Linked DNA regions of Homo sapiens: region 2 is linked to region 1. Evidence: promoter capture Hi-C in human tissues and cell types (Jung and others, 2019). All regions are on one chromosome and are shown on one strand. The core of a region is centred on a gene start or on the middle of the fragment in contact, and the rest is flanking DNA. Distances in the headings are between cores, read along the strand shown. Region 1 holds the start of FRRS1L (ferric chelate reductase 1 like). Region 2 overlaps EPB41L4B (erythrocyte membrane protein band 4.1 like 4B).

Region 1 (4,576 bases), core at 648-3,147:
ATCTTGAACAAGGACATGCAACCTGGCTTCTACTGTACTGATGAGGACAAAGCCTCAGGGGGATGGCAGAGCAACAAGATGGAAAGAACCCGGGTCCCTGAATGACCTTGCGGAACAGAGTCATCCCACCAGCCCCAGACCAACCAGACTCTTATCAGAGAGAAAAATAAACTAGCTTATTTAAACCACTATATGTTAAAATCTCTAATTCAGCAGTTAAGCCTCTACTTAATACATTTCCCCAAATCCATTCTCTCCATCTTCTTTAATACAATAATTCTGATTTTTGAACTGGGCATATTATGTCTCAGCTAATAGGCTCTATTTTACATCCTCCTTTGTACCTATGTGCAACCATATGATTAAGTTGTGGCCAAAGAAGTATAAAAATTGTTATATGAAACTTCCGAGTAATCCCTTTATAAAGTAGTCAGTGACCTTCTTCCTGCTTCATTTTTCCCACTGTCTAGAATGTGAACATAATGGCTGTAGCTCAAGCAGTTATTTTGAACCATGAAGTTACATGCTAAGAATTGTGAAGAAACAGAAGGGCAGGATCCAGAGACACTGGTGACCAAGGAGCCTCCAGACCAGTTCTGGATTACCTATTTCTAGTTTTCTTTCTGTAAGAGAGAAACTTCTATCTTGTTGAAGCTATTAATGTTTGCTTGTTGTATACAGCTGAACTTAATCCTAACAACAGACACATCCACTAACAGATATGAGCTCCTGGGACTCAACACTTCAAACCCCAGCTTGATGGTTGGATATCCCTCTTAGCAGAAGAAAAGGAAAGTCACTACTTCCCAAAGTTGCTTAAAGAGGCCAGTTTCCATTCCTTCTGACCACCATCCGCTTGGCTTTTGTGCTCGTTGAAGCAGCTCTACAGGGAGGCCCTTGGCTGACAAACTCCCAGTCTGCGGGCCCAGCAGGCCACAACAATGGTGGCTCGCACTAGGGGACCATAACATATGTGGCGTCATAAAAGAGGAGGGATGGGAGTGGGGAGGCTGATGTGACCCAGCTCTGACGGGTCAGTGAGCAGGAACAGAATGCTACGAGGTGGGCGCTGGTCACTGCAAATTTAAGTCAATACAGACAGGGAGGAAATAAGGCAACCTCTCTCTTTAGGTTGGGGTTTTTCTGCTTCCCCCTAGCTGCCCTGGCCAGATGGCGGCCTCCTCCCCTATAACCCAACCCCAGGCGGCAAAGGTGGAAGCCAGATCTAAGAACTGGGGGAGCTTAGACTCAGCACCCACCCCTATCCACAGCCTTGCAGAACTTGGATGACCCCTCCCTCTCCCAGCCTCACTCTCCCCATCTGTAAAGCGGGCGGCAGGCATTGACAGCTCTTTGGGCCTTTCCTCCAGGCCGGCGGAGGCCTGGGCACTGCGCTCCCCATCCTGGCCTCGCCTCTGCAAGAGCTGCCTCCACGGACATCTTTTCCGACCCCCTCCCCCTCCCTCGCCCCCTCTCCTCGTTCCCCCGATCCTCGGTCCCCCACCCCCGGTCTCCCCTCCCGCAACCCCTCGCCCTCCCGCAGCCTCACCCTCCTCCGACAGGTAGCGCAGGTCGTAGAACTCCCCCGCGAAGGTGCCGTAGGAGGAGTCGTGGCGCGGCACCGCCTCGTCGGCGCCCGTGTCCCCCCGCGCGCGTCCCCGGGGTCCCCGGCCCCCCGGGCCCGCACCGTCGTCCGCGGGGCTGGCTGCGCAGGCGGCGGGCCCCGTCAGTAGCAGCAGGAGCAGCGACGCCCAGACCCCCGGGTGCTGCCGGGGCGGCCGCGCCATCCGTGCGCACAGATCCCGCAGCCAGGCCGCTCGGGCCGCAGCGGGGGCGCCGCGGGCGCGGGCCGGGACTGAGCCTCCGCCGAGGCCACCAGCACGCGCCCGCGCAGCCGCGGAGCCTCCCGCACCCCCGCCTCCCTGCCTCGGTCTGCGCATCCTCGCTCCAGCACCGCAGCCTCCCCCTTCTTCTTGGAACCCCCCTCCTCCCCGCACCGATCTCTCCTTCCTAGCAGCTTCCCTTCTACCGTCCTTCTTTCCATTCTCCCCATCTCCCCGACTTCCCTCCACGCAGGCAGATTTGGCCCTTCTGGCCCCTTGCTACTCCGGAGTGTGGTCCGCGGACCGGCAGCATCAGCATCACCTGGAAGCTTGTTAGCATCGCTGAGGCCCCACTCCAGACCCATGAAGCGGGATGTTCATTTCATCAAAATTCCCAGGAGATCCCAATGCACGTTCAATTTATGAAACGCTCCTCTAGAGAGTTTACCCTGGACACACCTGGTCAGTGCTGCCTCCTCAACCTTGTGCCGGCACTTTTTGGTTTACATAAAGCACTTGCTAGACCTATTATTTCTTGGATCATCACAGAAGGAACTTGAAATTGCAAGACCCCCACAATAGAGCTAGGTAAACTGAGGTGTTTAGAGACAGAGAAAACTGGATTCACCTGCTTCCTCTCCAGGCTCTTGCGGTGTGTAATCAACAGAGGCTGGTGCCAGTAGGTAACCTGTTCCCCTTCAAAACTAGGCTTCTGGTTTACTCTCTTTCCCTGCAGCAAGCACGCGCAGGCCTTGGAAGGCCCACACCGTATCTGAGGGCCATGCTGAATTGTTGATTTTTCTCAAATCCATTCCTGCTGCTTGCAGTTCACTTTTGGCTATTTACTCAGCCATCCATTGATTCACACCAAGCATTTGCTTTATGGCAGGTCCCAGGGTTCTCTTTTGATGATGGTTGTTGGGGTGATATATTCGAATTGCTAAGCTGTTTTCCATCAGAGAGGCGGACGCAATTCCTTTCAGGCTGGTGTTGCAGAGCCAGCATTTTAACCTGCTTTTCCTATTTTATTATTTTATTTTATTGCATAAACAAAATAATTATGGAGGCAGAAAAGCATAGAGGTCCCAAATGCAGACCTAGAAGTCAGACTGCCTGATCTCTCATGATTAGTCATTGACATGATGCAATGAAGATTAGGGAAGATCATAGAGGTAAGGATCAATAGGGTTCAGTGCTGTAAGTGGCATGCACACATGTACACAATATTGTGAAATGTTAATATTCAAAAGGAAACTAGTGATCTTAACCCTTTATGGCCTGATTGGCTGAGAGATAAGGGTAGTGCTGTTGAAACAGGGGAGACATGATGGGGGACTTAGAAGTCAGGTATTTTCTATTAGGTATCAGCTAACAGTGGGCTGTCCAACTGGAATTTAAACATATTAATCCTGATGGCTGAATTGAGGTGTAATTCATGAAAACCTTGGGCTTCACTAGGTCCCCCAACATAGCAGTTGTCACAAAAAATAGATCAGATTATTTGAAAAAGGTAAGATGAACTATGATTACTTTAAAAACTCAAGAGACTTCTTCCCAAAAAGCATAGCGTGGCAATGCATAACATTCTAAAAAAGCTGATCCAACAGATTGAAAATCTGTTAAAGTGTAGTCCTTCAAAAAAAAAAAAAAAAACAAAAACAAAAACAAAAACCTTAAACCTTTCTTAAAAATTAAAATTTCTTTATTTTCTTTTCTTCTCTTTCTGTTCACCAGGGAAGGTATGGTCAACTTAGAATGGACCAAAGTTTAGCCAAAAAAATAAAGCATTAGACTTTTGATTTCAGTGTAGATTCTCTGGTTTGGGAATACAAGCTTTTACCTCTTACTTTCCTTTTTATTCCCTTCATTTTGGTTACTGAAATTAACAATAACGGTGCCCAAATAGAAGGCAAATGAAAACCAGGCCATTCTTCTCCGAGTAAATTAATCTGATATAAAAACACGTGGGCAGCCGGGCACGGTGGCTCACGCCTGTAACTCCAGCACTTTGGGAGGCCGAGGCGGGCGGATCACAAGGTCAGAAGATCGACACCATCCTGGCCAACACGGTGAAATCCCGTCTCTACTGAAAATACAAAAAATTAGCCGGGCATGGTGTCGGGCGCCTGAAGTCCCAGCTACTCGGGAAGCTAAGGCAGGAGAATGGCGTGAACCTGGGAGGCGGAGCTTGCAGTGAGTCGAGATCAGGCCACTGCACTCTAGCCTGGGCGACAGAGCAAGACTCCATCTCAAAAAACAAACAAAAAACAAACAAAAAAACAAAACAAAACAAAAAAAACCACCACCACGTGGGCTTTCTATATTGTTTTTATGGGGGTATTTGGGTATTTTGGGGACGGTTTACAACTACAGCCTAAAATGAAGTTTGCAGGTAAACTGTGGATTTCAATTCTCTCTCTACTCATGTAGACTCACAGGGGGCCACAGATAGGCTTCAGGGGTGATATGAGGACCTTATGAAAGTGCTGGAATAATGTTGTGATGTATGGGTTTTTCTAGGGAGAAAACCCATAGCTTTTTTTATGAATTATTTTTTCCATGTTCAACTTTTTTTTTAATTTACTTTAAGTTCTGGGATACATGTGCAAAATGTACAGGTTTGTTACATAGGTATACATGTGCCATGGTGGTTTGCTGTACCCATCAACCCGTCATCTAGGTTTTAAGCCTGCATGCGTTAGGTATTTGTCCTAATGCTCTCCCTCCCCTTGCCTCACCCCCCACAACATGCC
Region 2 (4,592 bases), core at 380-2,879, 140 kb after region 1:
TATAATGAGGATACCAATAGGAACTGCCTACTCCATGGGGGGATGAGGGGTCAGAGTGAAGCCATGGAAAGGGCTTGGAACAATGTAAATGGTCAATCCACTTTGAAAACATAATGCTGAGTGAAAGAAGCCAGACATAAAATGCCACATATTGCATGATTCTATTTATATGAAATACCCAGGGACAGCAAATCCAGAGAGACAGAAGACAGATTAGCGGCTGTCGGGGTTAGGAACAGGGGAGGAATGACGGCTCAACAGGTAGAGGGTTTCCTTTTGGGGTGATGACAATATTCCAGAGCCAGATAGTAATGATGGTTTCTCAACAATGTCAGCGTACTAAATGTCACTAATGGTCGATTTTGTGTCACGTATATTTTACCACAATTTTAAAAATCACTTGCAAAAACTAAAAAGGTCAATAATGCCATCTATTGCTTGAATTACTACATAATTACTATAACATGTGCTAGGTCCCACCCAAGGCAAAAAAATGCCCTGCAAGCTCCTAGGAGGAGAGGGAATGCTATATGGGAGAAGTGGAAGAAGCGCGGGAAGGTGGGGTGGTGGGGTGGGAGGATGGGGGGAATGATGGGATAAGCTTCATAAATGTGGCATCATCTGAGACAGGCCCTGAAAGATGGCTAGGCCCTTAAGGGATAAGAATCAGCCAATACGAAGGCAGCACAGGCCGGATGAGGTGGCCCAGGCCTGTAATCCCAGCACTTTGGGAGGCCAAAGCGGGTGGATCACTTGTGGTCAGGAGTTCAAGACCAGCCTGGCTCACATGGTGAAACCCGGTCTCTACTAAAAATACAAAATTAGCTGGGTGTGGTGGCGGGTGCCTGTAATCCCAACTACTCGGGAGGCTGAGGCAGGAGAATCACTTGAACCCAGGAGGAGGAGGTTGCAGTAAGTGGAGACTGCGCCACTGCACTCCATCCTGGGCGAAAGAGGGAGACTCTGTCTCAAAAAATCAAAATAAAAATAAAAGGCCAGGCGTGGTGGTTCACACCTGTAATCCTAGCACTTTGGGAGGCTGCGGTGGGCGGATCACCTGAGGTCGGGAGTTCAAGACCAGCCTGGTCAACATGGTGAAACCCCGTCTTTACTAAAAATACAAAAATTAGCTGGGCATGGTGACCCAGTGCCTATAATTCCAGCTACTTGGGAGGCTGAGGCAGCAGAATCGCTTGAATGCGGGAGGTAGAGCTTGCAGTGAGTCGAGATCGCGCCACTGCAGTCCAGCCTGGGTGGCAGAGCGAGACTCTGTCTCAAAAAAATATAATTAAATTAAATTAAAAAAATAAGGCACAGGTACAGATACACAGGTGAGAAGTGAAGGGGACACTGGGGAGCTGCCAGAGAGCCACTAGAGTGACAGCCGTGAAGAAAAACTGGAGAAGTGGACTTGAACAGCCTGGAAATGACTTTTAAGTCTAGTTTTGTATTTACTAGCTGTGGGATATGGGGCCAAAATCTTACTGGTGAGCTTTCTATAAAATTAGAACACCCAAAATTCTCTCGAGTAAATGCTATAAGGATTAAATGAAATGATCAAAGGTGAAAGCCTGATCTAAACCTACAACACCACACAAAAGGAAGGGAAGGAGCCCTGTAAAACATTGTTTCTCAAACCTGACTGCACCTCAGAATCACCTGGGGAGTTTTAAAACATTCTGGGCCAGGCGTGGTGGCTCACGCCTGTAACCCCAGCACTTTGGGAGGCCGAGGTGGGGATGGATCACCTGAGGTCAGGAGTTTGAGACCAGCCTGCCCAATATGGCAAAACCCCGTCTCTATTAAAAATACAAAAATTAGCCAGGCATGGTGGTAGGCGCCTGTAATCCCAGCTACGGGGGAGCTGAGGCAGGAGGATAGCTTGAACCTGGGAGGCGGAGGTTGCAGTGAGCCAAGATCGTGCCACTGCACTCCAGCCTGGGCAACAGAGCGAGCAAAAAAACAAACAAACAAACAAACAAACAAACAAAAAAACATTCTGGTGAAGGGGTCCCACCTCCCAAGCCCATCAATCTTGGTGGCAGTAGTCTGGGGTATAGCTTAGAAGCTGGACTTTGAAAAACTCCCCAGAAGATTCTAAGCATGCAGTAAACATCAAAAACCACTGTTGTATTAACTTATTAATCAGCCAGCCTTCGAAAAGGCAGAGTAAAGCAATGCTTTGAAGGCTGGAACACTATACAGAGCTGACCCAAGAATCCACTGGGGGCCACCAAGGCAAAGTCAAGGTAATGCAGTTAACATCCACACCCCACCCTAAATGAGCTCCTTTAGAGCAACGCCCATACATTTGACCATTTTGTATTCCTCCCACAGGGCCTTACAGACACTAGATGTGCTGCAGTTGTTTTTTTTTTTTTTTTTTTCTTCAAGAAATAAATGAAATAGCTGAAATAAAACAGTTCTTGTCAGTAAATGGATGCAACTGTAACTATCTGGAAAACTTACCTATGTGGAAGAGCTCATTCCCTGAAGCGAGTTAATAAACGACATGTTACAGTAATTCTATTATAGTACATACAATCCTTTCCCTTTTAAAAGACAGCATTAAATTTTTCCTTTTTTTTTTTCCAGGAGCGTCTTTAATTAAGAGGAACTTCATCGCTTTTAGAATAAAGCTAAATACCTCTGGACTTCAAAGCAAAATAAATCCCATAGCTCTAGAATACTGAGGTATCCTAAACAAATACCTCCGACCTTAAATTTCCTGCTCTCCCATTACAATATCCCATATCCCAGACCTCCTTTCTCAGGTTTCATCCTGGAGTGTCCCATTGGATGTGTCACTGCTGGCTGTGTGCATGACCTGGGCCAGTTCCAAGCCAGCTTGGGCCCCTCCCTGGACTTTAACCAGCCATTCTTGCTACCATCAAAGCAGTGCTGATGCCACTCAATACAGATTGTAACCGACTGAGCAGAGGTGATATGGGCCTTGGGTCTCAGGCCCCAGCAGGCAAGAGCAATAAAAGGACTCCAGTCGGTGAAATGCCATGGAATGGGCTGTCAAGAGTGCGCTGCAGGTTAATAACTAACCCCGGTAGGCTTTTACAGTCTACCGGCCTTCCCTGGATGATGCCCACATCCATCACATGGGCAGGAGAGCTGGAGAAAGCCCCAGCTCTCATGTGCCAGGGTTGAGAACCCTGGTCGCTTTCAGAAGAGATGGCAGAGTCTCAGAGGGGCAAAGAGGCTCGCTGGATGTCGCTCATAAGCGCTGGGGGGCTACGTGCAGGAAGCTACACTTGTTACACCCTTGTTACTGCTCATTTGCCACGGTGAGCAGCAGCAGACTGGAGTGAGCAGCCTTCCAAGGCAGATGGGAAAGGCCTTTCGCCGCCTCCAGAATGAGATTTTGGACCAGGTGTTCTCCAACGGTTCCCTCAGAGGCGAACCCCACTGGTTCAAGCTGTCCCACACTCGGCCCAATTCCCTTCTCATTGATTCTGCATTCCCTAAAATGTCTGCTGGCATCTCCAGCCAGGAGAGACAGAATGGGTTCATGGAGGGCCTCCCGAGTATGTGAAGGGGACCCAAGCAGGAGTGAGCTAGAGGGAGGAAGAACCCACACTCGAGGAAGACATTCAACAGCTGATCTCCACTCAGCCTTCTTGAGGATAAGGATCTTACTGATCTCTGTGTGCTCTGATCAGATGCTTGAAATAAGACCATTCCCGGTACTAACTGTACCTCAGGGGTGACCAATGTTGAGGATGCAATCAACAAAACTCGGAAAGTAACAAACTGTAATAGGACAAACGGCCTCACTTCTCCAACAGATAAATGGCTCAAAAAGGTGAAGAGAAGGTTTTTAGGTTAAGAGTCTTAGATAGAATATCTATCAAATGCAATGAAAGAACCTTGCTGAAAACCACAGAAGAAAATTTGAACATTGGCCGAATATCTGACACTAAAAAATAATTGTTCATTATTTTTAGAAGTCTTGATGAAGTCTTGTGATGTTGCCCAGGCTGGCCTCGGATTCCTGGACTCAAGTGATCCTCCCATCTCAGCCTCCCAAGTCGCTGGGATTACAGGTGTGTGCTATCACAATCAACTCTATTTTTTTAAAACTGGTCCTTATCTTTTAGAGATACCTACTGAAATACATGTTTGAAATTAAATGTTTAGGCCAGGCACGGAGACTCATGCCTGTAATCTCAGCACTTTGGGAGGCTGAGGCAGGCGGATCGCTTGAAGTCAGGATATCAAGACCAGCCTGGCCAACATGGTGAAACCCTGTCTCTACTAAAAATACAAAAAATTAGCGCGTGGTGGCGCATGCCTGTAATCCCAGCTATTCAGGAAGCTGAGGCAGGAGAATCACTTGAATCCTGGAGCCAGAGGTTGCAGGGAACCAAGATCACGCACTGCACTCCAGCCTAGGTGACGAAGCGAGATTCCGTCTTTTAAAAAAAAAAAATTACATGTTTAGAATTTGTTTAAAATAATCAGGAAAGGGCAGTAGGGAGGGGTATAAAAGGAGAGTGGCCACAAACTGATAAGTACGGAAATGAAGATGACTACTTAGGGTCCATATATAGTTCTCGCTACTCTGGAATATGCTTAGAAAA

The links. The method cuts DNA at HindIII sites, captures the fragments that hold promoters and counts their contacts. A contact is called where the count stands out against the background at its distance.
Region 2: a contact is called between a fragment that was not itself captured here and the fragment with the promoter of FRRS1L in region 1, in 1 of the 25 tissues and cell types used here (IMR-90 fibroblasts).

What each region holds. Positions count from the first base shown.
Region 1 is chr9:109,165,352-109,169,927 of GRCh38, forward strand. FRRS1L (ferric chelate reductase 1 like) reads right to left here and starts at 1,898. Exons shown (of 5, transcript NM_014334.4): 1 at 1,550-1,898. The coding sequence starts at 1,787. The HindIII fragment of the contact is 7,141 bases long and covers 1-2,904 here.
Region 2 is chr9:109,304,648-109,309,239 of GRCh38, forward strand. The region is part of intron 1 of EPB41L4B (erythrocyte membrane protein band 4.1 like 4B); the gene reads right to left. Among named protein-coding and RNA genes, the nearest start is that of EPB41L4B, 14 kb to the right of the region's middle. The HindIII fragment of the contact is 6,787 bases long and covers 1-4,592 here.